7 separate regions of the Homo sapiens genome follow, and all the other regions are linked to region 2. Evidence: promoter capture Hi-C in 16 types of primary human blood cells and fetal thymus (Javierre and others, 2016). All regions are on one chromosome and are shown on one strand. Each heading gives the region's core, a stretch centred on a gene start or on the middle of the fragment in contact. The rest is flanking DNA. Distances are from core to core; before and after follow the strand shown. Region 1 overlaps PIEZO1 (piezo type mechanosensitive ion channel component 1 (Er blood group)). Region 2 holds the start of CDH15 (cadherin 15). Region 3 overlaps SNAI3-AS1 (SNAI3 antisense RNA 1). Region 4 overlaps PIEZO1 (piezo type mechanosensitive ion channel component 1 (Er blood group)). Region 5 holds the start of LOC101927793 (a long non-coding RNA gene). Region 6 holds the start of RNF166 (ring finger protein 166). Region 7 overlaps GALNS (galactosamine (N-acetyl)-6-sulfatase).

Region 1 (4,017 bases), core at 97-2,596, 400 kb after region 2:
CTGGACACTGTCATAGGGCACTTGTCGAGTGGCCCTGCTGAGGTTCAGGCTTGGGCGTGTGTGGCCCCTGAGCCCAGCAGCTGCGTGAGCCGTGGGGAGCCGAGCCCCCAGTCAAGAAAGCTGTGTGCTCCTTACCCTGCCTGCTGGGCTTGGGGCCTGCAGGGCAAGGGAGGCGGTGGGATGGGAGCCCCGCCTGGCCTGGTTTCTTGTTGTCGCCGCACTCCTAGCTGTATGTAGTCAGATGAGGCTCCCAGTCCTGGCTCTGCTGCTGAGCACCATTGGGCCGGTGGTTGGGTGAATCTCTCAGCCTCTCTGAGCCTCCAGCACTTCGTCCTTAAGAGTGGAACTGGTCTGGACCTCCCAAGGGGGGGTCACTGGGTGCAGAGTTCCTGCAAGGCTGGGCCCGGTGCCAGTAGCGGTCGCTCTGTGGGGCCTTTCGCACGGTTGATTTTTATCTCCCTGTGAGATTAGCGCCTGCCCTGCTCTGCCTCACGGCTCTGGCTCTCCGGGACTGAGACCACCTGCTAAGTGACAGGGGCGGAAGGACCTTGCAACACAGAGCAAGACGTGATAGGGTGGAGCTGCTCCGCCCAGGCCCCGCCTGCAGATGAGAGGGCCCAGAGCCTCTTAATCCCCTGCGCTCAGGGCATGTGACGGCAGGGAGTCTCTCCAGTGCCGCCCACCGGATTCCTATAGTTAGAGCTCCTCGCCCAAGCCCCCAGGGCACCTCACTGGCCTCCCAGGTGAGGACATGAGGCCCAGCGACTCTGGTGGTGGCTGGTGTCACCTATGGCAGGGCCGCGCGGGGCCCAGTGGAGGACGCCTGGCCCGGACCTGACTGCTCCGTGGGAACCGTGGGGCGTGCTCAGGGTGACTTGGTGCGGCTGGGCTGCCAGCCGGCCTGGCTGAGTCACTGGCAGTGAAGGCACCAGGTGGTGGACGTGCTCGGCAGCTGGCGGGAGAGTACCCCCACCCAGGACCGTGTTCAGGCTGAGGGGGAAGGGAGCGGCCCAGGCAGGCACCGCCCATGGCGGGGCCCCCGCACTAACGGCCACCTCTCCCGATGGACTGCAGTTCTGGAGCCGCCCCTGAGGAGAACGCCCTGCTCAGTGTCCTGGCAGACTCTGGACTCTTCACCGTGCCATCCTCGCTACAGCCTGGCCAGGCAGCCGCTCCCGTCCCCCCACCCCACAGACAGGAACTGCAGACTCCTAAAGGTCGAGCCAGCTCCCAAGTCCATAGCCAGAAAGTGATGCAGGCGGGGCCCGGCTGGGGGGCAGGTGTGACCGGGTCATGGGGGAGCGGGCTGTGCACAGGCATCAGGCTGAGAGGTCTCGGGGATACGTCCTGGGAGCCGCCTGCCAGGCGTCCTGTGGGGCTGCCTGCAGGCCTCCTCTGGCTTTGGCAGGTTCTGTCCCGACAGACCGAGGCTTGGGAAGACCGGATTGTGCACTCTCTGCCTGGAGAGAGGGTGGGGAGGGGCTGGGGCGTGTGGGCAGGGAGAACACCCTGGGAGGCATCAGTCCTCTTCCCTGGGGACGGGCCATGCGTCAACAGTCCCTCACTTCCTCTCTCAGGGGCAGAGGCGTGGGGGTCCCGAGCCTCCAGGTTGGAGTAGGTTAGGAGGGCCTCAGAGCCCCCTGCTGCCCCGCCATGTGGCATTGGAAGGGGTGTGACCCCCTAGGGGATCTGTTAACCACACTCCGCCCCATGCCGGCCTCTCTGTTCCCTCTAACCTGCGCAGGAGCAGGGCCAGCTCTGAGCTAGCAGAGGTGACATGAGGCTCGTCCTGGCCCCGCCCACCCTGGCCCCTCCCTGTTTCCCACCACGCTCCGCCCACCAGAGCTACATGTTGTGTTTGAGCCTCAGCCCCAGACCTGGCTCAGGTCCTCAGGAGGAAGCAGTGACAGCCAGGCCCGGGGTCCTCTCCCTGCTCTGCTCCCTGCGTGCTGACTGGAGGCTGCAGGTCCCCAGGCTTGGCCCTGACCCTCAGGAATGGAGCCGGCCGATGTGAGGTGGGGGCTCCGGTCATGTGCAGTGGTAGGAGAGGAGGCGGGACCGGTCCCACAGCTCCATTGCTGCCGAGGCGTTCCGCAGGTCTGTCTTCATATTGGTAAGGAAAATGCGAGGATGGTGTAGCCTGGGCATCCCAGTCCCCAAGTCCGAAATCTAAATCCAAGCGGAAAATTCCAGGCCTGACTTCATACGCCAGGTCACAGTCAGAAGCCAGAATTATTGAAAGTATGCTCTGGGCGTGGTGGCCTCACACCTGTAATCCCAGCACTTTGGGAGGCCATGGTGGGAGGATCACTTGAGGCCAGGAGTTTGAGAGCAGCCTGGGTAACATAGTGAGACCCCCGTCATTATTTACACAAAATTATGTGACTGCCTTTAGGGTATGTGTACGAGGTATATATTGAAATGTGAGTAGAATTTTGTGTTGAGTCCCATCCCCAAGATACCTCATTATGCGTGTGCAAATATTCCAAAATCCAGAAAATCCTAAACTGGAAATACTTCTGGCCCCTTTGGATGAGGGGCCCCCACTCTGCATAGCAAGTGTGGGCGCGGGTGCTGCTGTGTCCTAGCGTACTTCAGTGTGTGGCCTTTGCAGTGAATAGGGCTGGTGTCCTCACTGTACAGATGAGGAAACTGAGGCCCAGCTTGCTTTGCCAAGGTGCATCCGGCCCCGGCCATGGCTATTCTGGCTCCAGATCCCATGGTCTGCAGCCACAATACTGCTGTGCCCCGGACTGGGCCCTGCAGCTCGCGGTGTCGCTGGCCTGCCCATTGTGGGCACCGCCCCCACCCCAGACTGGCCGAGGCCTAGAAGGGAGCAGGGCCTGGCTGAGGCTGCAGGGGTGGGGACGGTCAGCCAGCCCCTCACTGCCAGGAAGGGCGCATCCATCCTGGCCTCTCCCCAGGGAGAAGGGAGGAGCGGCTGAGAGGGAAGCGCTCTTGCCCTGTGGACGAGCTCCTGCCCCACGGACTAGGGAGCCCCCGCCCACAACCTGCTTGTCAGGGCCACCCGGGACCCCCGGGAGTTCGGCTGCTCGCTCTGCTGTTAGGAATTGGATTAGTTTTCCATAAAAACAGGATGTGGTGGGTGAGAGGGCAGTGTGTCCGTCTTTCTCACTCCCCTTTTTCCAGGAACTGAGCACGCGCATAGGTTTTAGCCAGGGCCGTCCAGTCCCCTCCCCACCCCCCACAGGGAACAATCCACTCTCTGCTCTTAAGTGGCCACTTAATCAGCTTCTCCTCCTGGCCCGGGGAGCTTCTTGGAGCCGGCCTGCCGTGGTGGGAACAGCTATGGGGACACCCTGCCATAAGGTCCAGCAGCTAAGCTGGGATGTGGGGGGAGGGGCTGCGAGGCCCAGGCAGTGTGCCAGGCCGCACAAGAGGAGCCCAGCTCTTGCCCCACCAGCTGGCAGCCCTGGACCGAGGTTGGGCCCGTGAGGTTGGCTGGGCCCTGGGCCCTGGGCCCCCCTCCCCAGGACACGACTGTGGTGGCACATGGCTTTGGGGGCTCGTGGGTCCCACTTTGCAGACCTCTGCTTTAAGGGGTCTGGTCCACGGGGTCCCCTCTGGAGGGCCTGGGGGAAATCTCAGGGACCTGGGGTCTGGACCCGGGGGAGGGAGCGGGAGAAGCATGTGCGTGAGTCTCGTGCTGTCAGGGAGCCCGGGAAGTCTGCGAGGGCTTGGGGGTTGTGTCAGGGAGTGTGGGTTTTGCCCTTCAGTGGTGGAAGCTGGCTTGAGTCCCCTCGATCCCTCAAGGCTGTAGTCCTGACTCGGGGCTGTAGGGCAGGGCAGGGTGGGGTCACCCTGAGGCAGAAGGCTCAGCGGAGATGTTCTGGCTTGGCTCTGCCCCTCCCTGGCTGGGTGGCCTCACCCTGTGACCTTTGGGGACCCTGGTTCCTCTGAGCCAGGGGACAGCAGTGACTCCGCCTTCCTAGGTGGCTGAGGATGACATGGGCTCCCCCTGCAAATGTGGGTTCTGGCTCAGTGGCCAAGTGTATG
Region 2 (4,191 bases), core at 76-2,575:
CTGCTGGAGGGTCTGGCTGGCCAGGCGCCTGGTCAGCTGCCAGGGGCTGAAATTGGAGCCAGCTGGAGCTGGGAGGCCTGTGGGAATGAGGGGACTCAGGAAGCCCCTTCAGTGGGGGCTGGGAAAGGAGTGGCTTCCCTTACTCACTGTGTCCAGCACTCCCTGACCACCCCAGGACCACAAGAGCAATGAATACTGTGAGCACCGCTAAGCCCTTTATGTGCATTCTCTCTCGAATTGGCCAGAGAGAGGCTGCCCTCTTGTACCCAGTGACGTCCCAACCACAGCCGGCCATGCCCCAGCCCAGCCCAGTCCCTGGGGGCTGAAGCCACTGAGGCCACATCCTCCATGTCTAGGTCCCCCTAGGGTGTGAGGAGACGTGGCTCCAGCTAGGCAGTACCCATGTCGGGTGTGGGGGGCTGAGGCCTGGGCTTCCTTCCACTCTGGCTTGCTCCCACGTTGGAGAGACCACGGTGCCAGCAGTCCAGACAAGATTTTTAGGGGCAGAGTCCAGCAGCCTCTGGGGGCTGGGCCCCCAGGCCTGATCACCCCAGGCAGCTGCGGCAGGGTCCCAGGTGAAGCCCAGGAACAGAGCCCCCAGGGCTGCCACACGCCACTCTGCAAGGCCGTGTGTTGCGACCTGGCTCGGGCTGGGCCCTCCCAATCGAGAAGTAGCCGTGAGGGTGAGTTCCTGGGGGCAGGGCCTGCAGCCACCCCTGCTGGCCAGGAACTTGGGGTGGGGGGTTTGGACAAAACCCAAGACTAGCCAGGGGTCCTGTGCCCACCGCAGGGAGTCCCTATAGAAACCTGGCCCCCAGCCCCCCAGAGAGGGGCACTCCTGCCGCTCCCCCCTCTCTCTGCTCCACTCAAGACTGGCAACCCCCAGACCCCGGCAGCGGTTCCTCCAAAGAGAGGGCACGGCTACCTGGGTGGCCCCTGCCTGGGGTCCCTGACCCCAGCAGCACTCTGCAGTCCTGGGGGTGATTCCACCAGATGGAGTGTTTGGTTACACTCACTCCCCACAACCCCTGGGGTGCTGCCCCCAGCCCAGGGACCCACCCGGAGCCACTCCGCTCACAGGCCCCCAAAGGCGACCAGGGCCAGTGGTTCTGGGGGAGACCTGTGCGGCTGCAGTTGAAGACACTGTCCCGCAGCGTCGAGGGAGGCAGCGGGGACCCCCGCAGGTGCCGATGCCTTACCTGGGCCAACAGCCCGAGGACGAGGAGGAACGCGGCGTCCATCGGGGCCGAGGCGGGAGCCGGGCCGGAGTGCACCCGCGACCCGAAGAAGCGCGTCCAGGCTGAGTGACAGCGCAAGTGCGCGGGGCGGGCCAGGGCCAGAGACAGAGACAGCACGTGTGAGGGGGGCGGGGAGGGGGCGGGGCAAGGGCTGAGTGACAGCACGAAGGAGGCCTCTGACGGGCCGAGGGCCGGCCTGGGCAGGGCTAAGGCTGAGTGACAGCGTGTTGGCAGGCGGGTGGGGCGGAGCCTCTGGCGAGCTAGGGCGGGGCGCAGGCTGAGTGATAGCCCGTGTGCGAGTGGGGCAGGCGGGGCGGGGCCGGGGCCGAGGGCTGAGTGACAGCGCAGGTGCGCCGGCGGGGCGGTGACCGCACGAGGCTGGTGGGGCGGAGCCAGAGGAGGATGGGGCGGGCGGGGCGGGGCCGAGGGCTGAGTGACACCTTGTGAGAGTGCGGGGTGGGGCCGGGGTGGGGCCGGGGCGGGGCCGAGGGCTGAGTGATAGCTTTTGCGGGGTTCCGGCGGGCAGGGCCAGGGCTAGGTCGGAGATACCCCGGCTTGCTGCGTTGGGAGCAGAGCCAGAGGCCAGGCTGTGGGGAAGGCAGGGTGGGTGCGTCCGGGTCAGGGACCAGCTGGGATTCCTGGCTTCTTCATTTCCTGCTCCTTGGGCCCGGCTCGCCCCTGCTCCAGGGAATCTGCATTGTAGTCCCTGCCGGGGGACACCTCTTGAGCACTTCCTTGGGCCCCTCGCCTCTCTGGCTGCGTCTCCTGCGCCTCCCCGCATCCCACTGAACGCTAGGCCCGCCTTCCACGCACCTCCTCGCGACCTCATTTTGCCCAGCTCTTATTCAGTATGGAACTGCTCTGGTTCACACGCCTCTGATACCAGCGTGGCTCGTAGGACACCCCCAATTCCCCCAGTCCACGCACCTCCTCCAGCATCCCCTTGTTCCCCGAGGCCCCCTGCCTGGAGCACCTTCCTTCCTACAGAACTCCTTCTCATCATCCCTCAACACCCAAGGTCAACGCTGCCGCCTCCTGGAGCCTCCTTGCCACCTCGGCCAGAAGCCCTCCCTCCTGTTGACTGTGGCACCTGTTCTCCCCTTCGAGACCCCGCCCCCTGGGATGGTGTGGGTGTGGCTCAACACCTGCACAGGCCCAGCGCACGGTCAGGAAGGTCCTGGAGAGGGGGTGGAGGGGGCTGGAGGCAGGAGGATCCTTTCTTTTGAGCAGGCAGGGTGGGGAGTGGGGGTTGCCGACCAGCCCAGGGCCGGGCCGGGGAGCCCGTTCCTCTCTGTGATGGGAGCAGACCCGGTACCTCTGCTCTCCTGTCGACGGCGGGTGGCTGTGCAGGTGCAGGCAGCATCTGTGCACTTGGCCTGCTTGAAAGGAGGCCAGGCTGCCCGGGAGGCTCAGGCCAGGACTGTCCCTAGCGCTCACTGCTCCAAGATGAGAGAGGGCAGGGAGTCCATCTCCAGACTGGGAGGCCTCTGGGGCTGGGGTGTAGCCTGTTGGGGACCACCATCCTGCCTCTGTGGTCAGTGACCTCAAAATAGGGGTGGAGAAGCCCTCTGAGTGCTTTTGGTTTTCATCCTCACGGGACTAGTGCAGGGGTGAGGTAGAAGTGCTCGCCCTCCCCCCAGAAAGAGGTCTGGGGAGGCTGCGGTCTGCCAACCCCAGCTCCTCTCCGCTTCCACCCTGCACCCACCTCGCTTCAGCCACCTGCCTCCCACCCACCTCGGGGAGAAACGGAGGCCAAATCCCTCCTCCATGGGATGTGGGGGTCTCTAAGGGAAAGGCTAAGCTGGGCCAGGTCCTGGGTGAGCCCCAAATGCAGGGCGGGGCCAGGGAAGCAGCCGGCTTAACCACTGCGGGAGGGTGTGCTCCCTGGCTGGCGGGCTATCCCCCAGGGGCAGGTGCCCCCGCGAGGGACCCCGCTCCACATGCTCCCAGGGCAGCAGGAAGGTCAGGAGGCAGGAGCCTGGGTCCAGTCCCAGCTCGGAGCCTTGGGCTGGAGGTTCTCCCCCGTGCCTCAGTTTCTCCTTGTGTCAGAGGTAGGTGGCAGGGAAGGGCTGGGTACCCTGAGTCTGGAGGTCCTGTGCAGTGGGGGCAGGGGTACATTTTCGGCTGCAGGACCATCAGCCCTAGAAGAGCCCTTCCCTTTCCTGGTGGACCTGGAGACGCCGGACCCTCCCTCAGCACCCCAAGCCTCCAGCTAGGACCCCACTCTGGGCCTTCTCCTCCTTTTTCCAGAGTCTGCAGTCCTGAGCCTTTGGGACTCACCCCCATCACTCCTGCCCTCTGCCTTGCCCACCTCAACTCTCCACCTCGGGGGACGCACCTCATGGGCATGAGGTGGGGGTGGGCCGGCCAAGATGTAGAGGGGGCTCCCTGGTCCACAGCCTCAGTTCCCATCCTATTTCCTCTCCCCAGTATGAGGAACGGGGGGACAACAAACAGGGTCCCGGACCCCCCAGGAGCCTTGCAGTCTTGGATGTCCCAGAGGTCCCCCCACCCCCAGCCCTTGGCCACTCCTCCCAACACCGCAGGCAGTGGTCGAGGCTGGGCTAAGGAATTTCCAACTTTCTCACGATAGATGCAGGCGGGTGCCGGTTTTCAGCTGAGATGCCATGGTGTCTGCTCTGGAGTGATTCTGTAATTGCACAGTGCAGTAACGGCACTTGACCCTTGATTATTAAATTGTATTTATGTAATTACAGTGTATAAATATACATGCACACCCCAACCACTAAGGGGCAGGCGTGATGCGGAACGCTGCGGTTGAGCAAGGTGGGCTGGACAGGGGCCCTGTGGAGGCCCAGGGCTTAGGCCAGTCACAGCCCCGTTACCGAAGAGGCAGTGGGGGCTGGAGGGCAGGGGTTAGCAGCTGTGAAGGCGGCTCCTACCCAGGGTGTGGGGCGTGGAGGGCAGAAGGGTGACGTCCAGGGAGTTTGGG
Region 3 (4,239 bases), core at 579-3,078, 500 kb after region 2:
CCCAGCATGTCTCAGCCTCTCCAGCTCAACCCCAGGGGCAGCGTCCAGGAAGGAGCAAGGAGGCCCCTCCTAGTCCCTGACACCTTCGCTGATGGGGATGGTGGAAGGGAGGTTTCTGGGAGCGGACACCTGTCCCTCAGGAGGGCTGGGCCGCTGTCAGCTGCCCTGCTTCTGGCTGCAGACAGGAAGACATCATTGTCCTGGTCCTGGAATGGAGCCACGTGGAGAGCGGCAAGCGCTCCCCTTGCTCCCAGAGCCCACTGAGCCTCCCGTCCATCCGTCTGTCCATGAGACTATTCAGGGGGGCTCACAGGGACCACACATGAAGCACCTTGTTGCTCAGCCACTTGGCTGCTCCAGTCCCAACCCGGGCAGTGGGAGCCCCACTCGGGGCAGCCCCGCCTGCAGATCAGCCTGGCTAACACCTGCCAGGTGCTGACGGGCCCTTGGGCAGATGGCTTGACGACACCTGTTTGAAGAGCCTTGGGGACATCCCAGAGGAAGCTTGACCTAGACCTTGGGCTCCGCTGGATCAAGGGTGACCTTGAGTAAACCGGCTCCCCAGAAGAGCTTGGGCTCCAGCCGCTACCAGTCTCCACGTGAGCTGGCGAAGTGAAGACACTGAGAAAGCCTCTCTCACCTTCCTGGACCGGGACCACTGCCTCCCCTACAGGGATTGGCCGTCCCCAGAGAGGGAGGCACCCACTCAGCTGCCATAACAAAGCACCCCAGCCTGAGTGGCCGAAACAACAGAGTTTCATTCTCCCCCAGTCCTGGAGGCTGGAAGTCCCAGATCCAGGTGAAGGCAGGGCTGGTTCCTTCAGAGGCTGTGAGGGCGGGGCTGTTCCAGGCTTTCTTGTGGCTTTGGGAGTCCCGTGGCATCTCCCTGTGTGTGTCTGTTTCTGTCTCTCCTCTTCTTATGAGGATACAGTCATGTTGCCCTGCTCCAGGAGGCCCCCATCTTAACTCATGACATCTGCAAAGCCTCTACTTCCAAATATGGTCACAAGCGGAGGGCCCGAAAATTAGGACTTCAACATACGGAAGCGGGGGGACGCAATTCCACCTAAACAGCCAGTGGAAACATGGGGCTTTGCCAAGAGTTGCCTTGAGGGTCCTTGCACTCAGCGCTGAGGAGAGGGGAGGCCTCACCCTCTTCTTTTGTCCCTCAGTCTACAAAGGATCATGAGGGCCAGGCATGGGAGTTCACTCCTGTAATCCCAGCCCTGTGGGAGGCCAAGGCGGGTGGATCACTTGAGCCCAGGAGTTTGAGACCAGCCTGGGCAACATGGCAAAACTCTGTCTCTACTAAAAATACAAAAGAATGAGCTGGGTATGGTGGCACACCCCTGTAGTCTGAGCTATCCAGGAGGCTGAGGCAGGAGGATTGCTTGTGCCCAGGAGGTGGAGGTTGCAGTGAGCCAAGATCACACCACTGCACTCAGCCTGGGCGACAGACCGAGACCCTGTGTGAAAACAAAAAAACACACACAAAGGATCATGGGGGACAGCTGATCTTAACCGATGGGGTTTACTGGAAGCATCTCTTTCAAAGGTTGCATCCAAGTCACCTTCCCCAATGGCCATAGCTGTTCCCTGACCCATCTCCTCTCCCTCATCCCCATCGGGGCAAAGGCAGGGGACAGGCCAGCACCCGGGTCTTGAGGAGGAGTAGGGCTAGGAGCCTGTCCTCCAGGGCCCCCTCCCTCCCGACTGTCTCCCGGAGCTCTTGCCTCCTCTGCTTCACGGTCAGGCTGCCAGGGGTGAGGGTCTCCACCGGCCTGGAAAAAGGCAAGAGCTCCAACCACGGTTTCTATTAAGTCTCGGCATCTCACAGGAGGGCTTTTTTTGTTTGTTTGTTTGTTTGGTAGCATCCAGATCCCTAAAGGAAGCTATATTGTAAATTGTCTTCTATTTCTGGGTCCCAATATCTAAATGAGGCGATTGCACCTGTTGGGAATGAAGGACAGGAATTTCACAAGCCGAAAATAAAGCTGAATGTTTTCCCTTCTGTCTCAGCCCATGGAAAATGCTCTTATATTTATATCTGGGCGGGCAGGGGCTGGGAGGGAGAGGATGGGTTGGCAGAGAGAGGGGCAGAGGAAAGGCAGGGCACCTGCCAGGGGCCTGGGGTGTAAAGAATGGAGGAGCCACTCCACTTAACGCAGGTCTGGCCCAAGTCAGAGGCAGCGAGGGTGGCCAGCCCCACCCAGGACACCCCCAGCCACTGCCCACCAGCCCTGCCCTTCACTGCTGGCCTCTCCTCCTTGTTCTGCCTGACCATCCCCAGGTTAACCTGGAGCGGTCATTTAAAATCTGGGCTTCTGGAGGCCTATCCAACACCTGCAGCTTGAGCACCAGGAAGGAGGCGTCTCAGCCTTGCTCACAGTCTCCGGGGGCTCGGGGCGGGGAGAGCTCTTCCTCCCAGGACTCAGGCCTTCCTTTCCCCACCCAAATCTTCACTCATCACATCCACTCTCCTCCCTCTTCCAGGGGCAGTGTCAGAGTCTTTCCTCCGGGCGGGAGGCGGGGCAAGGATGGACAGGAGGCTGCAGGACCTGAGCACACTGGAAGCGGGTGTTTCAGTGACGGTCCAGTGATGTCTGGGTGAGGGTGGAAGCCTAGGAAATCCCTGAGGATCCTGGACAAGAGGAAGAGGGTGTCCTGAGCTCTGAAAGGCAGGGGCTGCACCCTCCTCACAGCAGAAAAAGTCCCCTGATGACGTCTTCCCTAATAGCACACGGCAGGCCTCAGACAGGACCCACACCAGGGTGTGCAGGAAGGAAAATTAGTAGGGCCCTGCGTGCCTCTCGCTGTTCTCTGACTCATAGTGTAAAAGCAAAGAAGACGCCTGGCCTCCTGGAAACAGGTGTTGAGGGACAGCGGGCCTCTGGGTGACCGGGTCCCTCTCTCCACTCCCCGTTGATAGAAACTTATCCCGAACGCCAAAAGGCGCTAAGGTTATTGCCTTCATGTCCAAGGGCCCAGAGCATCCTATAAATATCATTTTGGCCCAGAATAATCATGGGGGTTCTCTAGGTGTTTGAAAATAGCCTGCTTGCTACTATCTATATTCAGAGAACCCACTCCTGGCCTCCACTCGCGTGGCTAAGTATAGCTCCCTGGCAGAGTTCAATGGAACAAAAGCTTCCAGGCGTACACGACCTCACGGATGGCAGAACATTCTCGGAGGAGCACCTCAGCTGCCACGACTCAGAGGAGCTCAGAGAGAGGCTGGCACTGACCTGGTCACCTCCCATCTCCCAGTCTTGAGCCGGGTAAATCTGTGGACCTCTCAGCAAACAAGAGGCATTCTTGCCAGACCCAGGAGCAAGGGGCTCTGATGCTAGTTTTGTCCTTCTTGAGGGGTTGAGTTAGTCACAAAGCCTTGGTTTCTTCATCTGTAAAAGAGGGATTGTGCGAACTTCTATGTCAGAATTAAAGAGAACTCCAAGTAAGCCATAGAAAAACCAAAGGCTGGCCGGGCGCAGTGGCTCACGCCTGTAATCCCAGCATTTTGGGAGGTTGAGGTGGATAGATCATCTGAGGCCAGGAGTTCGAGACCAGCCTGGCCAACATGGTGAAACCCTGTTTCTACTACAAATACAAAAATTAGCCAGGCGTGGTGGTGTGCGCCTGCAACCCCAGCTGCTCAGGAGGCTGAGGCAGGAGGATCACTTGAACCTGGGAATCGGAGGTTGCAGTGAGCTGAGATCGCCCCACTGCACTCCAGCCTGAGTGACAGAGCGAGACCCTGCCTTAAAAAACAAAAAGAAAAGAAAAGAAAAAAAAAAACCAAAGACATTTAGGACACCCAAAATAAAACTGCCAACCTAAGGAACACTCTCAGCTTTGACTCCTCTTAGGATCTCTATTTCTGGACGCCAGGTTCTAGTTGCAGCGAGTCTGTCTTCACAGCCACCCCTGGCCCGGCCCACGGCAATGCCTGAGAGCAGCTCAGCACCTGCCCCGGGGTTGGGTAGAGCTGTATCATGCGAATGGGTAAAGGCGGCAGAGTTTCAGACCCAGGGCCCAGCCTAACGGTAGATAGACGCCTCCCATCTTGCCAGGGGTCATGCGCCATCTCTGGGAATCCCAAGGAAATGCAGGGCCACCTTCCCACAGGATGTCAATCAGCACTGCCACCCCAGCTCCTTCCCAGAAACCCCCACCTCAACGCCAAATCTGGGAATCTTAAAGCAGCCCCTTCTCTTCAGCAGCTCCCCTGCTTCTCCCTCC
Region 4 (3,881 bases), core at 1,207-3,706, 420 kb after region 2:
TAAAAGGAGGCAGACAGAGCAAGTGTGTTGGTACCCGCCTATTTACTGGCAGGAACTTACAGACGGAAACATGGCCTCAGGCAGCCTCCAGGCAGGTAGAGCTCTGAACCCAAACGCCCGATCTGGGGCTCGTATCGTGCCCTGGGAGGAATGTGCAGGTGGCTGGGAACGTGGCGGGTGGGGTGGCCAGATTCCTGCTGCAGCACCGGGTTTGTTTAGGAAGAAACGTACGAGGACTAGACACTCTTTTTTTTCTTTCCTGCACGTGAATGCCAGGGAGTAGGTGCTCCTGCAGGAAGATGATGCATCAACCAGCCAGTCTGGAGGCATTCCGAGACCCGGGGTTAATCAGCAGATTAGCATTTAAATAAAGTTACTCTGTCCCCACAGCCAGCTAGGCCCGAGCCACATGGCGGGGGCGGCGGGGGCGGCTGTTCGCCGCATCCCAGGCTTGCTCCATCTCCTCGTCTGCAATGTGGAGGTGACAGTCGTGGTCCTCGGCTAGTGCCACAGGACTGTACGGGACAGATCACCCAGCCCCGTGCCTGCACTGGGGGCGGCGGTGACGTGATGGCCGCGGCGGTGACCTGATGGCCGCAGGTGTGTCCACCCTCTGGTTAGGCCTCTCCTCTCCCTGGGGCGCAACAGGTGTCCTCGGGTGGGAGGTTCAGCTGCTGGGCCTGGGGCCCCAGCTTTCAGCTCCTGTGCAGGCGTGGAGCGGGACGGCACGCCGGGGCGTTCGTTCACACGATGCCCCCAGCTCGTCTCTGCCTGCTCTGTGATGCAGCCTCAGCTCCTGTGGGTCCCGGGTCACCCACCCGTGTGGGCCGCAGTCTTTCTGCACCACGTCCTGCTCTCGGCCAGCGCTGGCCTGCGGGCCCCGGCAGTGTGGGGTCACACACAGGCCGCACCGGCTGTTTCACGGAGCCCCCCTGCTCAAAATCCTGGCCTTGGGTCTCTGTGTGGCTCCTGGAGGGAGCATGTATGAGGTGTCCAGGTTGTGAAAGCCCCATCCGGCAGCCCTCCCTGTGACAGTCCTTCAGGCCTCGTCAGGCTTGGTTCAGCCCGTGTTAGAGGAGGCCAGACAGCTCCTCCTCGATCACCACAGGGAACGAGGGTTGGGCAGTTTCTCCTCTCCCACCCGGGCGTGGGTCAGCTGCAAGGGTCTCATCCCAGGAACTGGATCCTGGCAGGGGGGCTCAGGCATCTGACATCCCCTGGCAGGTCTTCCTATGTGCCAGTGGGAGTGGGTGGTGTCCAGCCCTCTTTGTGGAATGTTCCGGTTGAGTGGTGTGTGGTCCTGGTTACCACCATGTGGCATTTGTGGCTTTCCTGGCCAGCACCCACTGAAAGCAGAGGCCAGCCCAGCCCTTGGACACCCAGGGGCCCAGCAGCTACCGTGGGGGCAGCCTCTCCCCTCCTGACTGTGCTCCTCTCAGCTGTAGGATGAAGGTCTGTGGATGGGTGATGGCTGGGCTCTCTGCTTCCCAAGGAGCTGGATGTGGGCCATAGTCAGGCGTGTGCTGGTGAGGCGAGGGGGTTGGGGGTTGGGAACCACAGCTCTCTCTGACCCCATCCCATTGCAGCTGACTCAGGAAAAGGCATTACCCCCACGGGGTCACAGGCCCAGCCTGGGCAGCTCCTGATGGGAACATGGGAGCCACAGGGCAGGGCAGGCTCCTGTCCCCGCTCCTTGGATTGTCTCAGGCCCCGCCTCCCCTTTGGCTGAATTTCTTCCTTCTCTGCCTGAGCCTGATCTGCGAAGCTTCCGACCTGCCCTGAGTTGGAGCCAGTCTTCAGGGCCAAAAGCAATGCCGTCTCCTCCAGGCAGCCTGCTCTGAAGTCTCCCCCTCTGGCTTTAGCCCACAAAGTCACAGCTGAGGCCACATCAACACACTTAGACCAAGAGCACTGCCGGCTGCATAGACAGCACAGGTAGATCCAAGGAGTGTTTCGAAAAGCCGTGGCCCTGCGGCCGGGATGCCCGGACCTGGGTCCTGACCACTCTTGGGAGCTCCTCCCCTCTCAGAGCCCATCCCATCTGAAAATGGGGGCATTGGAGCATTGGAGGAGTGCTCCTCACTCCTGCCCTGCTAGCCGGCTACTCCGAGGACCCCAAGACCAGATGATGGGAGAAGTGGTGGGCTGGGCTGTGACCCTGAGCCCCCTTCTCATCCCACCCGTGAGGCTGCCCCTGCTTGGTGTCTGTGGCAAGGCTGACAGAAGATGGCGCCAGGGACCAGCCAGGGCCCTCCTGTCTCAGCCCGTCCTTGGGTGAGTGGGTGTGCTCTGGGGGTGGCAGGTGTGCTCCGGGGGCGGGAGGTGTGCTGCGGGGGGCCGGGTACGCTCTGGGGGGGCGGGTGAGCTCTGGGGGGCTGGGTGCGCTCTGGGGGGGCTGGTGTGCTCTGGGGATGGACAGGTGTGCTCTGGGGGGCGGGGTGTGCTCTGGGGATGGATAGGTGTGCTCTGGGGGGGCGGTTGTGCTCTGGGGGGGCAGGGGTGCTCCGGGGGTGAGTGTGCTCTGGGGGGCGGTGGGTGTGCTCTGGGGGCGGTGGGTGGGCTTTGGGCTAAGTAGCCCTCTTCCTCTCTGAGCCTTTTCCTTGTCTGTGTTGTTGGTGAGTGGCCGCCACCTGGGACAAGCCTTAGCTGTCTGTCCAACTGTCCACCATGTCCCCGGACCCTAGACCAAGCCCGCTGCCTGGTGGGGCCTGCTTGGTATTGAATGAATGAATGAATGGATGAATGGATGAATGGATGAATGAATGAGTGAACAAACTCTGGGGGGCGTGTTGCTGATCACCCCAGGGCAGGCCCGTGGTGGGTCATGGTCTCAGGCAGGGGACTTGCCCTGCCGGGTGACGTTGGCCTGCCGGGGAACCCCTGCCAAGGTGCCTCCCATGCCCCCATCGTCCTCTGCCTTTGAGTCCACTCTGCCCCTCAAGGTTCCCCTCTGGCTCGGCCAGGGGCAGGGCGGTCAGGGAGGCCTCCAGCTCCAGCCCCTCCCTCATCTCCATCCTCAGCCCCTGCACCCGCCTCATCTCCAGCCCCAGCCCCTTGCAGCCTCAGGCTCGGGCTTCTGAGAATCCTTTGCAGATTTCAGGGCTGGTTATTTTTTTATTCTGGCAAAATATACATCCATAAAGCTTTGTTTCCTGAGATGATCTCACCCTGTCGCCCAGGCTGGAGTGCGGCAGCGTGATCATGGCTCACTGCGGCCTCAGCCTCCTGGGCTCAAGTGATCCTCCTGCTCCAGCCTCCTGAGTAGCTGGGACCACAGGCATGCACCATCATCCCCGGCTAATTTTTGAATTTTTTTGTAGAGATGGGGTCTCTGTGTTGCCTGGTCTGGTCTCGAACTCCTGGGCTCAAGTGATCCGCCTGCCTTGGCCTCCCAAAGTGCTGGGATTACAGGCCTCAGCCACCACACCCGGCCTAAAGTTTGTCACGTTAGCCGCATTGAAGGGCACAGGTCAGCAGCGGTAAGCATGTTCGCATTGTTGTGCAGCCATCACTGACACCCATCTCTAGAACTTCTTCGTTTTCCCAAAGGAAACTGCACGCACGGCACCACCTCCCTGGCCTCCCCACAGCCTCAGGGTCTGGTGACCTTCATCCCCAGGACCTACGCTTCTGACTCCAGGAGCCCTGCCTGGTGTCCACACCACACTAAGGTGCCCTGCCACGGGCTTCGAACCCAACCCTGGTGCACTTGTTGAGCATTGGACGTTCCTGGCAGGTCAGACCGTGAGCTCCTCTGCTCTGACGGATGCATGGACGGCTGCCACCTGGCTGGACAGGTGCAGAGGGGAGGTGCCACCTTCTCTGGGGACAGGACTGGGGCAGAACTCACCCGGCTGAAAAGTGCAGCTGTGGAGAACTTC
Region 5 (3,726 bases), core at 286-2,785, 290 kb after region 2:
CATCGACTCCTCAGAGCTGCTACTGGAAGTCAACGAGAACGGCAAGAGGAGGACGCCCGACAGGTACCTGTGGGCTCCGGGGATCTGGGCTGGGGGTGCCGTGGACACGCGGCTCACCCTGCTCCCCTCTGGGTAAGAGAGGGAACCTCCTCTGGGGCTGCAGCCAGCCCGGCCGGCTCTCTCGGGCTGAGGGAGCGTGGCGAGGTGTACTAGGGCCAGCAGGCTTGGTGGCTGCACGGGCGGACACCCCAGTGGGCTGCAGACTCAGATGCTCCGGGGAGCCTAGGAGGACAGGGAGGAGGCTGGTGGGAGGACGGCTCTCCCCTGTGTGCCGGGCATGGACTCCGAGCGTCCGGGGTCCATGGTCCCCAGGTGCCTGGGCTGGGCCCCCTCTGCTGCCCCAGACGCTCTTGTGCTGCTGCTGCCCAAGGGGCAGGTGGTCTCCAGTTACGGAAGCCTGGTGTATCCCTCTCCTCGTTCCCAGAGCAGCGAGTCCGGCTCTTTGACCACCAGGCCCCAGGATGCCATGCAGCTGGAGCAGGGGTTGAGGCTGGCATGGGCCCCGGCAGAGGGGCAGAGAGTGGGGGCGCCGGGCTGGGCTTCCCGGGGCTGGTGTTTTGCTCCGTGTTTCTGTCTCGCCCTTACGTGTCCTCTTTCTCTCTGCCCTTGCCTGTCTGCCTCTCACCCCACCTGCACCTCTGTCCCCGGTTCATCCTATGTCCACTGCCCTCGCCCCACCTGCTCTTGGGGCTAGGACCAAAGAGAACGGGTCAGACCGCGACCCGCTGCACCCCGAGCACCTCAGCAAACGGCCATGCACCCTGAACCCTGCCCAGCGCTACAGCCCCAGCAACGGGCCACCGCAGCCCACACCGCCGCCGCACTACCGCCTGGAGGACATAGCCATGGCCCACCACTTCCGAGATGCCTACCGCCACCCAGACCCCCGGGAGCTACGAGAGCGCCATCGGCCGCTTGGTGAGCAGCCCGGTGGGGCGGGAGCGTGGACGCGTGTTACAGGAGCACACATGCGCCCACATGTACACCTGAGCATGTGGGCACAGGGCACCACGGGCAGCTGTGTGCACCTGAGCTCGGGAGACCCCTTCCCCCTGCCTGGCATTCCCCCTGGAGCAGAGCGGTGGCTGCAGAGGGGCCTGTCCTGGGCCCTGAACCCACCTCTCCCCCCGGGGTGGGCGGCCTCGGGCCTGGAACTGCCCACGTGGTTCTCATCCGAGCTTGGCGATTCCCACAGTCCACCCACAGGTGAGTCACGTGGCTCTCTGCTTCTCAGTTTCCTCCTCTGTCACCTGGGCCAGACGAGAGTCCCAACTCTCAGAGTCCAAGGCCTGGGGGAGTTAATGCAGGGCCCAGCAAGGGCTGCCGTGAGGCCTGGCTGGTATCTAGAGCAGGAGAGGGGCACAGAGTCTCTGCGTGAGGCCAGGCTGGTGTGGATAACAGAGAGGTGGGCACGGAGTCTCGGTGCATTTTATCCTTCACTCGTTTCTGAGCCCGTCAGTGGGGTGGCGTCAGCACCCCCATACCACAGATGAGGAGACTGAGGCCTGAGAGCACACATAATGCACCCACAGTCTCACAGCCCAGCCTGCCTGACGTTTTGACGGCCTCTGTGCTGAGAACCCAGAGATGGTCAGGCCCAGCCCCACCCCAGGAGCCCCCCCAGGACAGGCTGCAGGGAGGCCTCCAGTCTGCCATGCTGAGACAGAGGCCCAGGGCCCGGTGGGGGCCCAGCAGCAGGGTCAGCAGAGGCCTTGCCCTACACAAGGCCATCTCCCAGCCCCCACCTTGCGGAGGGTTCCAGGGCCCAGGCAGCAGGTGACGGCGTCTGGCATGCTGCAGCCGGGTCAGGCAGGTGCTGACTCCCACCCGATTCTGCTAATACAGAAATAAACGCCAGCTGTCGGGCACGTCTCAGCCACTATTTTGGTTGGGGTGTTGCTGCCAGCTGCAGCTTCACAGGCGGCAGAGCAGGCTGGTGACTGAGCTGTGGCTGCCACTTCCCCACCTCCTCTGCAATTTGGGGGAGCCATTTCAGGTTCGGAGGCTAGGAGATCTTTAGGGGCTGAAAAGGGCCCCAAGAGGGAGACCTCAGCCCCAGAAGCGTGGGCAGTGGCCAAATGCAGAAAACAGTGGGGCCTGGAAGCCTCTGATGTCTCCAGAAGTCGTGGGCGCAGCTACCACGAAAGAGTAAGCCACTGCCGGGCGTCACTCACGTCTCCCGTGGGCACAGCCACCGCAGAAGAGTTGGCCACTGCCGGGCATCACTCACGTCTCCCGTGGGCGCAGCCACCGTGGAAGTCGGCCACTGCCGGGGTCACTCACGTCTCCCGTGGGCGCAGCCACCGCAGAAGAGTCGGCCACTGCCGGGCGTCACTCACGTCTCCCATGGGCACAGCCACGGCGGAAGAGTCGGCCACTGCCGGGCGTCACTCACGTCTTAGTTTCTGGTGACCTGTGGGAGTGGCCTCTGCGGCTTCAGTCCTGGAGCCTGTCAAAAGGGAAAAACCTTAGACACGCTGTATTGAACAGAGTTTAACTGAGCAGAGAACAACCCCGAATAGGATGGGCCTCAGAGCCAGCGTGTTCCGAGAGCCCTGGCCTCGGCTTGGCTGGCGGTGTTCACAGGCAGAGACAGGAGGCGGGTGCCGAGGCCACGTGGTTGGGTGGTGTTTGGCGTGGCTTCATCGGAGTCATGGGCGCCTGCGGGTGACCGCAGAGGGCTGCCGCGAATGACTGAGACCAGCTCCTCCCAGTGAGGTTACCCATTGATTCACGGACTAAGGCAGGTCCAGGTCATGGTGTGACTTGGCACTGAGGCATCCTCAGGCCACGCTTAGTCTAACAAAGCCTTCCCGGCCAGTGGCTGAGGACACTGCTCCAGCTCCAGCCAGCCTCGGTCCACACCCCACCCCCACCGCTCCCTGCCTGGTGACCACAGGCAAACACATCCTCTTAACCAGCCTCAGTTTCCTCAGCTGCAGAATGGGACTGAGACTGAACCCTCCCTTGGAGGCGTGTGCCGTGTTGCAGGGGAAGAGCAGTCGGCCCAGAGCCCCAGGCGGCTCAGTAACCCAGGCATCCTCCACGGTCACCAAGTCAACCAGCCCTTCGGTTACCCTGTCCATCGTCCCCAGCGGGCACAGCCCACGGGTGGGGCCTGGGAGCAGAGGGCGGGGTCTGGGAGAATAGGGCAGAGACTGGCTGTGGGTGGGACCTAAGCGTGCACCTCCCCCATCCACAGTGGTGCCTGGGTCCCGGCAGGAAGAAGTGATCGACCACAAGCTCACAGAGCGTGAGTGGGCAGAAGAGTGGAAGCACCTCAACAACGTGAGTGTCCACACACAGCCACGCCCACACAGCCATGCCCAGGCGCACAGCCACGCACACACACAGCCACGCACACACAGCCATGCACACACAGCCACGCCCACAGCCATGCCCACACACAGCCACACCCATGCACACAGCCATGCCCACACAAGCCACGCCCACACAGCCACAGCCACGCCCGTGCAGTCACACACAGCCACCCCCACGCACACAGCCACGCCCACGCACACAGCCACACCCACACACAGCCATACACACACAGCCACACCCACACACACAGCCATACCCATGCACACAACCCCCCCATGTACACAGCCACACCCACGCACAGCCATGCCCACACACAGCTACACCCACACAGCCATGTCCCCACAC
Region 6 (3,682 bases), core at 789-3,288, 470 kb after region 2:
CTGGGATTCAAGCGTGGTGGGTCCACGTGTACATGCTGCGTCTGGGCTCCTGAAACCACGCTGTCCCCTGTGGGTCAGGGAAGGCCAAGGTTTCTCCCACGTGCTGACCTGAATGATCCCTGGGGATCCCAGCTCGATGTAGATTCCTAAGGCCTTCCCCTAGAGAGCCGGCTCCCCACTGTTCCTTGGGACCAGCAAGCACAGCAAAAGCCCTTCTGGCCACAAGGGCCTAGCATACAGCCACAGCAGCCTCTCCTCAGTGAATTCTGCCGGCAGCCTGGTGTTCTTGGCAATTTCAGATGCTCCTGGGTGGTTAAAGAAGTACCTATCTTGGCCAGGTGTGGTGGCTCATGCCTGTAATCCCAGCACTTTGGGAGGCCGAGGCAGGTGGATCACTTGAGGTCAGGAGTTCGAAACCAGCCTGGCCAACATGGTGAAACCCTGTCTCTACTAAAAATACAAAAACAATTGGCCGGGCATGATGGCAGGCACCTGTAATCCCAGCTACTCAGGAGGCTGAGGCAGGAGAATCACTTGAACCCAGGAGGTAAAGGTTGCAGTGAGCTGGGATCATGCACTCCAGCTGTTGCACTCCAGCCTGGGTGACAGAGGGAGACTCCATCTCAAAAAAAACAACAACAACAACAAAAAAACCACGCACCACCACTGGGAATTAAGAGGGCTAAAAGGAGAGAGACCTGGTCCTCCCTTCAGGGAGCTATGAGTCTAGTGGAAACAACTGAACAATACAATGGCTACAAGCCAAGAAAGACATGACAAGCGCCTGGGGGAAAGCTAGAGGTCTTCCAAGCCTCTATCCTGCCACAGATGAAACAAGCATCTCACACGAGATTAAAAACTTTCACCCAGACCATCTGCCAAGTTCCCAAGATGCTCTGATCCGCCCCTAGATGTATTCCAGCTGCCCCCAAACGCCTGGTCCTCCTACAGCTTATCCCAGTCTAGACACCACGGCCCCACTTCCAACTGTCCCCATAAGTTCCATCAGAAACCTCATCAGGGGATCTGTGGCTAGCTCATGGGAAACTTTCCCAAGCAGGAAACCAATGCTTTCGCCTCCACTTCAACACCAGGGGCACGAGGGACCCCATCAGGAGCAGGAATAAAGTAAGTACATGTTTTTAAAAAGAATTAACAAAGCATCACAAGTTGCGGCTATCCTGTCTGCTAGCGAGGCCATGTTTGCCAGGGTCTCAGCCACCTCCAGGCCTCACCTGCAGAAGGCATCTCCGGCTCGTATCACCACAACGGGCTGCGCTTCCTTGCACTTCACACACTTCTGCTCACGGCTTTGGAGATGGGAGGGGGGAGAAGAGAGAAACACAGATCACATCTTCCCCACGCCTAGTGGGCTTTGGGGAGACAGCTCCTGTTTCTCACCCTGAGTTGGGTCAGAGAAAGGCACCTCGGTACACACACAAACCCAGGCTTGTGTTCTGTCCAAACTTCAAGAAAAACAAAGGCTCTGGGGGGATGTTTAGCCTAGAAAAGCCGGCTCAGGGGGCACATAAAGGCCGCTTTTCAGTCTCCCAAGGCTGACACGGGGAGGCGAGACAGCTTCACGGCACCAGTTCTCTCCGAATAAGGACAGCACTGTCAGCGGCAGAGCCGTCCCCAGTGGCTGCTAGGATGAGAGGCGCGAGCCAGTGGAGTAAGTCCCCTTCTAGGTGGCCGTCACCGCTTGACAGGCATTCCCCGAGTGCTAGGGAGCGAGGTCCCGCTCTCCACGCGGGGCTTCCCGGAGCAAGCCCGGCCGGGACCCTTCGGGGCAGGAGTGCGGCGGGAAGGCGAGGGGCGGCCTGGCGGGTCCGGCCGCCAGCTCTTACCTGGGCCGCGGCGCCGGGGGCGGCTCCTCAGGCGCCGGCTCCCCGTAGTCCTCGCCCACCTGACACATGGGCACGCCGGGTCCCGTCGCAGACTGTGGCGGCGACAGCGCGAGGGCGCGCCCCGATGACGTCGGAGTGGCGCCGTGACGGCCGCGAAGCCCGGCTGGGGGCGGCGCCCTACGATGACGTCAGCGCGGCGCAGTAGCGGCTGTGACTAGCGGGCCGGCCCGGGCCAGGACAGCGGGCGGCGGGCGGCGCGGGCCTGGCCCCGGGATGGCTATGTTCCGCAGCCTGGTGGCCTCGGCTCAGCAGCGGCAGCCGCCGGCCGGGCCGGCGGGCGGCGACAGCGGCCTGGAGGCGCAGTACACCTGCCCCATCTGCCTGGAGGTCTATCACCGGCCCGTGGCCATCGGCAGCTGCGGCCACACGTGAGCGCGCCCGCCCAGGGGCCGCGGGGAGGGGGCCGTGCCCCGCCGCGGGAGGGGTCGCGAGGCCGGCGGCCGCCCCGGTGCAGCTCCGGACTGGGCGCGCGGGGACTCGGGGCGCCGGGGCCTCGGGGCGCGTGGGGTCCGGGTTTCCCTGTGCCGCGCCGCCTCTGCCCTCTGGGCGCGTTCATCCCCCGCCCAGCCTCCTTCGCGCCAGCCGCAGGCGCCCGGTCCGACTGCTGCTTCGGTTCACCGGGCGACCTGCGGCCCTGCCCAAGCTCGGGGTCCCCGGCGGCTGCGGCGGGCGCTCCGGTACTCAGAGGGCAGCAGGTGCCACCGCTCCGCCAGTGGTGGTGGATTTGGGCTTGTGCGGCTGGAATGGGCAGTTGTAAATAAATAACTTGTAGTTTTTGCTATCAACTCTTGTTCGGACCCGCTGTCTGCCTGTTTTGACTACAGAGGAAAGGAGTTCCCTAAAGTTTAGAGGGGCTTGTTTGGAGTCTGATGTTCTTAGTTTTGTTTGAAGGAGAACTTGAGTCACACCGATCACTGAGTAGCCAGGCAGGCTGGTCCACAGAGGAGCAGACACTGACCACCTTGCTGGGGTTTCCAGCTGCACCAGGGCTCACAGCCGGCTCCTCCAGGGTGTTTCAGGAACAGAAACTGGAGGACGTGGCTCTCCTGGCGGGGAGCTGTGCTCAAGTATTCTGGAGCTGCCAGCCCCGTTGGGAGGAAGCCTAGATCAGTGTCTGCTCCCTCCTAAGTGCTGAATAATACAGCTCTTGAGCAAAATCAGCAGTGGCAGGGGAGAGAGAGAGCAGGAGGGCTTCCCCGCAGACATCCAAGCTGCTGAGGTGGTGGAGTGGAGGGGGGTGCACCCAGACTGGTAGGAGGCTCTAGAACATTTTGCAAGCAAAGTCAGCTGACTTCAGGGGCTCCTGGTACAGAGGGAGCTGGGACTGCTAGGTGGATGTGTGCTGGTCACCCACGGAGGTGGCAGGGCCAGTGTCAGGATGCAGAGCTGCCTTCATTACCTGTGTCAGGCAGCACAGGCGCCTGCCCACGCTGGGACAGCTCTACCTACTTCTCTTGTGAGGCTGCTACAGGCTCTGCCCCTGCTCCTCCATCTCACTTAGCCGTGACATTTTGGGGGGGCAGCCTCTGAACGGGAATATTTTTTTTTGAGACAGAGTCTTGCTCTTGTCACCCAGCCTGGAGTGCAGTGGCGCCATCTCGGCTCACCGCAACCTCCATCTCCTGGGTTCAAGTGATCCTCCTGCCTCAGCCTCCAGAGTAGCTGGGATTACAGGCACCCGCCACCACGCCCGGCTAATTGCTGTATTTTTAGTAGACAAGGGGTTTCACCATGTTGGCCAGGCTGGTCTCGAACTCCTGACCTCCGGTGACCTG
Region 7 (4,158 bases), core at 1-2,500, 320 kb after region 2:
AGATAACAGACACCACCCATAATTTCCCCACCCAGGGGTGACAGCCGACAGTCCTGGGCAGCTGCTTTTCCATCTCATATGTCTTATTTGTGTGCAGTGACTGCTTTCCAGAGCACGCTCTCCAGCGCCCAGGGGTCCGTGTCCTGACAGCAGTAGCCGGGCCTTTCTCTGCACTGAGTGGCATCTCCCTCCTAAAGATACTTTGCTTCAGAATTTCATCCTTTCACTTTTGAAGTTCCTCTGGGCCAGTGTAGATACTTTGTTTCAGAATTTCTTCTTTTCATTGTGTAACTCCTTCTGGGCCAGCATAGCTTCGCTGGATGAGCTGGGCTCTGCAGGTGAAGCCTCCCTGTTAAGTTTCTGCTTTTCCTGACTTTCTCAGAGGACAGAGGGGTGAGGCGGGGCAGCTCATGAATAATTTTTTATGTTGAAGACTTGTCGAAATAATATTTTGGTTATGTTGGGTTAAATAAAATATAAAGTTAGTCTGTATTTCACCTACTTCTGCTTTTCTAATGTGGCTCCCGGTAAATAGGGAATTGCATGTGGACTCACCCTACGTTTCCATAGGACAGCAAGGGTTCAGGCCGTGCAGGGTGGAGGGGTGGGGTGTGGCCACCGGGGCACATGTGGGGGAGGGTGACAGGAAGCCCCGCCCACCTGGGCACCTGTTCTGTGGCCTCCACTGTGTGGCTTGTGGGGTCGTTTGGCAGCTGACGCCTAAAGAACCCCAGAGGAGCTGTGTCCTGGCCGGTAGGTGTACTTGTAAGGACTTTCTGATGCAGACAGCAGAAGATGAAGTCAAAGTGACAAGCAACAGTGGGGATTCCCTGGCCCTCCTGAGTCGACAGACCAGGGCCGCCTGGCGAGTTTCCCCTTTCGTGGCTCTGCTGCCTCTGAACTGGCCACATCCTCACTCAGCCTGTGATGGTCCTAGGTGACTCCAAGTCACCCCTGCAGTCAGCAGACCCAGTGGGAGGTTGGCTCTGCCCGTGTCATGTTAGCGTGATGTGGGTCTCAGCCCTGCGCCAAGCACACTGGGGGAGGGGCACATGCTGACCTGTCCAGCCCAGGCCTCGGAGCCTCGGGCCTACCCCAGAAGGGAGACTGCCCCTGATCATCTCATCTGCCTGGACCCAGCAGAGAGGGGGTTCCCTGAAGGGCCCATGGTGCAGCTGCCAGGACAGGGCAGGGATGCTGGCAGGTGAGAGCCACAGAAGCTCACAGTGGAGCCCCGAGGTGCCCTGACGTGGCCCAGGGTGCAAGGGGGTCCTCACAGGCTGTCTTCTCTCCTTGGAGTCCGGGGCTTCCTCCGCAGCCCTGTCCACACCTCTTCCTGCACTGCAGACCGGTTGTTTCTGCCAGGGCGCTGGCGTCTGAACCTGCAACAGGTCATTCGGCCTCTGGCATGACATGGGATGGCTTGATGACCCACAGCTCTGGGCCCAGCACCACTTGAGGACGAGTGTGCATGTCTCAAGTTCAGATTTTGGAGCATGGCCCTCCAGGGACCGGCTGCCTCCAGCCCAGTCTCCCCCTATCCAGTCCTCTGTGGCTGGGCAGTGGGGGGCCTGGGCCCCCCTTTCGTCTAAGCAAGTGCAGTTTCAGAAAAGGGTTGTCCCCAAAACTAGCTTATTGCACCCCTCATGGCCAGAAGCCACTCTCCAACTGGTCACACTGACCCGGGAGAGAACCATTGCCCCCAGAGTCGGGACCAGAAGGGGAAGCTGGGACTCAGGGGTGAGAGCAGCTGGCAAGAGCCCCCACCTGTCCAGGGGGAGCTGAGCCGGGCAAGGACGGGTCTACCTGCACTCCCCAGGGCTGCCCTGCCCTGGCCTTTCACTGACCCACGGTCCAGCGCGGCCTGGCTTCGTAGTACCCTGGGCACCTGCTGCGTGAGTGAGGAAACCTGCGTGGCCCACTCTGCTCTCCAGGGCTTCTGGGGCCTTGGAGACAGGTGAGACCCAGTGACAAGTTCCACTCTGGCCCACACACAGCTCCTGCCTCCCAGGGCGAGCAGCACTCTGTGTCTCCACTCCTTATTTGGAAAATAGGGTTAAGGAGGGTCAGCCCTGACCACAGAGGAAGTGGAGAGTCAGGGCCACCCAGGCCAGCTCCTGTTGCCACAGCAGCCTCGTCGAGCCACCAGAGTCCGGGGAGGGTTGCTCAGTGCCCCTCGTTTGAAACAGACAAGCACTGGCCTGCTCGTCTTCATAATAATCCCATAGCAACCAGTAGGAATGGAAACTGCGTTTCTTAAAACTCTGAAATTCTGAAGGATACTGATCCATGGCTCACAGCTGTGCTCGCTGAACGTGGACAATCATTTGGGGGCTTTTAGGCCTTTTTTTTTTTTTTTTTTTTTTTTGAGATGGAGTCTCACTCTGGTCACCCAGGCTGGATTGCAGTGGTGTGATCTCAGCTCACTGCAACCTCCGTCTCCCAGGTTCAAGCAATTCTCCTGCCTCAGCCTCCCGAGTAGCTGGGACTACAGGCTCCCACCACCGTGCCCAGCTAATTTTTGTATTTCTAGTGGAGACGGGGTTTCACCATATTGGCCAGTCTGGCCTGAAACTCCTGACCTCAGGTGATCTGCCTGCCTCAGCCTCCCAAAGTGCTGGGATTACAGGCATGAGCCACCACACCCAGCCAGGACTTTTTTTTTGAGACAAGGTCTGGCTCTGTCACCCAGGCTGGAGTGCAGTAGCTCGATCACAGCTCACTGCAGCCTCAAACTACTGGGCTCAAGCAATTTTCCTGCCTCAGCCTCCTGAGTAGCTGGGATTATAGCCGCCCATCACCACACTCGGCTAATTAATTTGATCTTCAATCACTGATACCCTTTCTTCCACTAGATCGAATCGGCTACTGAAGCTTGTGCATGCGTCACGTAGTTCTGGTGCCATGGTTTTCAGCTCCATCAGGTCATCTAAGGTCTTCTCTACACTGTTGATTCTAGTTAGCCATTCGTCTCATCTTTTTTCAAGGTTTTTAGCTTCCTTACCATGGATTCAAACATCTTCCTCTAGTTCGGAGAAGTTGGTTATTACCGACTTTCTGAAGCCTACTTCTGTCAGCTCGTCAGAGTCATTCTCTGTCCAGCTTTGTTCCCTTGCTGGCGAGGAGCTGCGATCCTTTGGAGGAGAAGAGGTGCTCTGGTTTTTAGAATTTTCAGCTTTTCTGCTCTGGTTTCTCCCCATCTTTGTGGTTTTATCTGCCTTTGGTCTTTGATGCTGGTGGCCTAAAGATGGGGTTTTGGCGTAGATGTCCTTTTTGTTGATGTTGATGCTATTCCTTTCTGTTTGTTAATTTTCCTTATAAGAGTCAGGTCCCTCAGCTGCAGGTCTGTTGGAGTTTGCTGAAGGTCCACTCCAGACCCTGTTTGCCTGGGTATCACCAGTGGAGGCTGCAGAACAGCAACTATTGCAGAATAGTAAATATTGCTGCCTGATCCTTCTTCTGGAAGCTTTGTCCCAGAGGGGCACCTGCCTGTATGAGGTGTCAGTGGGCCCCTACTGGGAAGTATCTCCCAGTTAGGCTACACGGGGGTCAGGGACCCACTTGAGGAGGCAATGTGTCCGTTCTCAGAGCTCAAACACTGTGCCGGGAGAACCACTGCTCTCTTCAGAGCTGTCAGACGGGGACGTTTAAGTCTGCCGAAGTTTCTGCTGCCTTTTGTTCAGCTATTCCCTGCTCCTAGAGGTGGGGTCTACAGAGGCAGCAGGCTTTGCAGAGCTGCGGTGGGCTCTGCCCGGTTCGAGCTTCCCTGCCGCTTTGTTTACCTACTCAAGCCTCAGCAATGGCGGACGCCCCTCCCCAGGCAGGCTGCCACCTCGCAGGTGGATCTCAGACTGCTGTGCTAGCAGTGAGCAAGGCTCCGTGGGCATGAGACCCTCCGAGCCAGGCCCGGGATATAATCTCCTGGTGTGTCGTTAGCTAAGACCGTTGGAAAAGCGCACTATTTGGGCGGGAGTGTCCTGATTTTCCAGGTGCAGTCTGTCACGGCTTCCCTTGGCTAGGAAAGGGAAATCCCCCAACCCCTCGCACTTCCTGAGTGAGGCGATGCCCCACCCTGCTTCGGCTCACCCTCCATGGGCTGCACTCACTGTCCAACCAGTCCCAGTAGGATGAACCAGGCACCTCAGTTGGAAATGCAGA

Evidence for each region. The method cuts DNA at HindIII sites, captures the fragments that hold promoters and counts their contacts. A CHiCAGO score of 5 or more calls a contact.
Region 1: a contact is called between a fragment that was not itself captured here and the fragment with the promoter of CDH15 in region 2, in 8 of 17 cell types (naive CD4 T cells, total B cells, total CD4 T cells and 5 more). The highest score is 8.2, in naive CD4 T cells.
Region 3: a fragment that was not itself captured here is called in contact with the fragment with the promoter of CDH15 in region 2 in 2 of 17 cell types (neutrophils and monocytes); the score reaches 6.2 in neutrophils.
Region 4: a contact is called between a fragment that was not itself captured here and the fragment with the promoter of CDH15 in region 2, in 16 of 17 cell types (M0 macrophages, M1 macrophages, monocytes and 13 more). The highest score is 13.8, in M0 macrophages.
Region 5: a fragment that was not itself captured here is called in contact with the fragment with the promoter of CDH15 in region 2 in 1 of 17 cell types (M0 macrophages); the score reaches 5.5 in M0 macrophages.
Region 6: the fragment with the promoter of RNF166 here is called in contact with the fragment with the promoter of CDH15 in region 2 in 3 of 17 cell types (monocytes, neutrophils and erythroblasts); the score reaches 7.6 in monocytes.
Region 7: a fragment that was not itself captured here is called in contact with the fragment with the promoter of CDH15 in region 2 in 3 of 17 cell types (fetal thymus, M0 macrophages and naive B cells); the score reaches 6.3 in fetal thymus.

The regions. Positions count from the first base shown.
Region 1 is chr16:88,767,582-88,771,598 of GRCh38, reverse strand. The region is part of intron 1 of PIEZO1 (piezo type mechanosensitive ion channel component 1 (Er blood group)); the gene reads left to right. Among named protein-coding and RNA genes, the nearest start is that of PIEZO1, 16 kb to the left of the region's middle. RefSeq lists enhancers at 461-1,044, 1,045-1,628, 2,213-2,796, 2,797-3,380, 3,381-3,966. The HindIII fragment of the contact is 5,586 bases long and covers 1-4,017 here.
Region 2 is chr16:89,168,882-89,173,072 of GRCh38, reverse strand. CDH15 (cadherin 15) reads right to left here and starts at 1,325. Exons shown (of 14, transcript NM_004933.3): 1 at 1,200-1,325. The coding sequence starts at 1,241. It overlaps LINC02138 (long intergenic non-protein coding RNA 2138), which reads right to left. Exons shown (of 3, transcript NR_046200.1): 3 at 3,926-4,191. RefSeq lists a silencer at 1,250-1,889. The HindIII fragment of the contact is 9,317 bases long and covers 1-4,191 here.
Region 3 is chr16:88,672,766-88,677,004 of GRCh38, reverse strand. All of the region lies in intron 3 of SNAI3-AS1 (SNAI3 antisense RNA 1), which reads right to left. Among named protein-coding and RNA genes, the nearest start is that of SNAI3-AS1, 12 kb to the right of the region's middle. The HindIII fragment of the contact is 2,643 bases long and covers 507-3,149 here.
Region 4 is chr16:88,751,753-88,755,633 of GRCh38, reverse strand. The region is part of intron 1 of PIEZO1 (piezo type mechanosensitive ion channel component 1 (Er blood group)); the gene reads left to right. Among named protein-coding and RNA genes, the nearest start is that of PIEZO1-AS1, 11 kb to the right of the region's middle. The HindIII fragment of the contact is 1,378 bases long and covers 1,768-3,145 here.
Region 5 is chr16:88,882,298-88,886,023 of GRCh38, reverse strand. CBFA2T3 (CBFA2/RUNX1 partner transcriptional co-repressor 3) reads left to right here. Exons shown (of 12, transcript NM_005187.6): 6 at 1-63; 7 at 755-978; 8 at 3,263-3,348. LOC101927793 (a long non-coding RNA gene) reads right to left here and starts at 2,509. Exons shown (of 3, transcript NR_135194.1): 1 at 1,806-2,509; 2 at 1,180-1,403; 3 at 1-282. The HindIII fragment of the contact is 9,463 bases long and covers 1-3,726 here.
Region 6 is chr16:88,704,764-88,708,445 of GRCh38, reverse strand. RNF166 (ring finger protein 166) reads left to right here and starts at 2,038. Exons shown (of 6, transcript NM_178841.4): 1 at 2,038-2,275. The coding sequence starts at 2,121. It overlaps CTU2 (cytosolic thiouridylase subunit 2), which reads right to left and starts at 1,943. Exons shown (of 15, transcript NM_001012759.3): 1 at 1,848-1,943; 2 at 1,236-1,310. The coding sequence starts at 1,915. RefSeq lists silencers at 1,675-1,984, 2,025-2,304 and an enhancer at 1,926-2,563. The HindIII fragment of the contact is 28,082 bases long and covers 1-3,682 here.
Region 7 is chr16:88,851,462-88,855,619 of GRCh38, reverse strand. All of the region lies in intron 1 of GALNS (galactosamine (N-acetyl)-6-sulfatase), which reads left to right. LOC107983950 (a long non-coding RNA gene) reads left to right here. Exons shown (of 2, transcript XR_933884.3): 2 at 1-492. Among named protein-coding and RNA genes, the nearest start is that of GALNS, 3.4 kb to the left of the region's middle. RefSeq lists a silencer at 610-679. The HindIII fragment of the contact is 3,253 bases long and covers 1-2,876 here.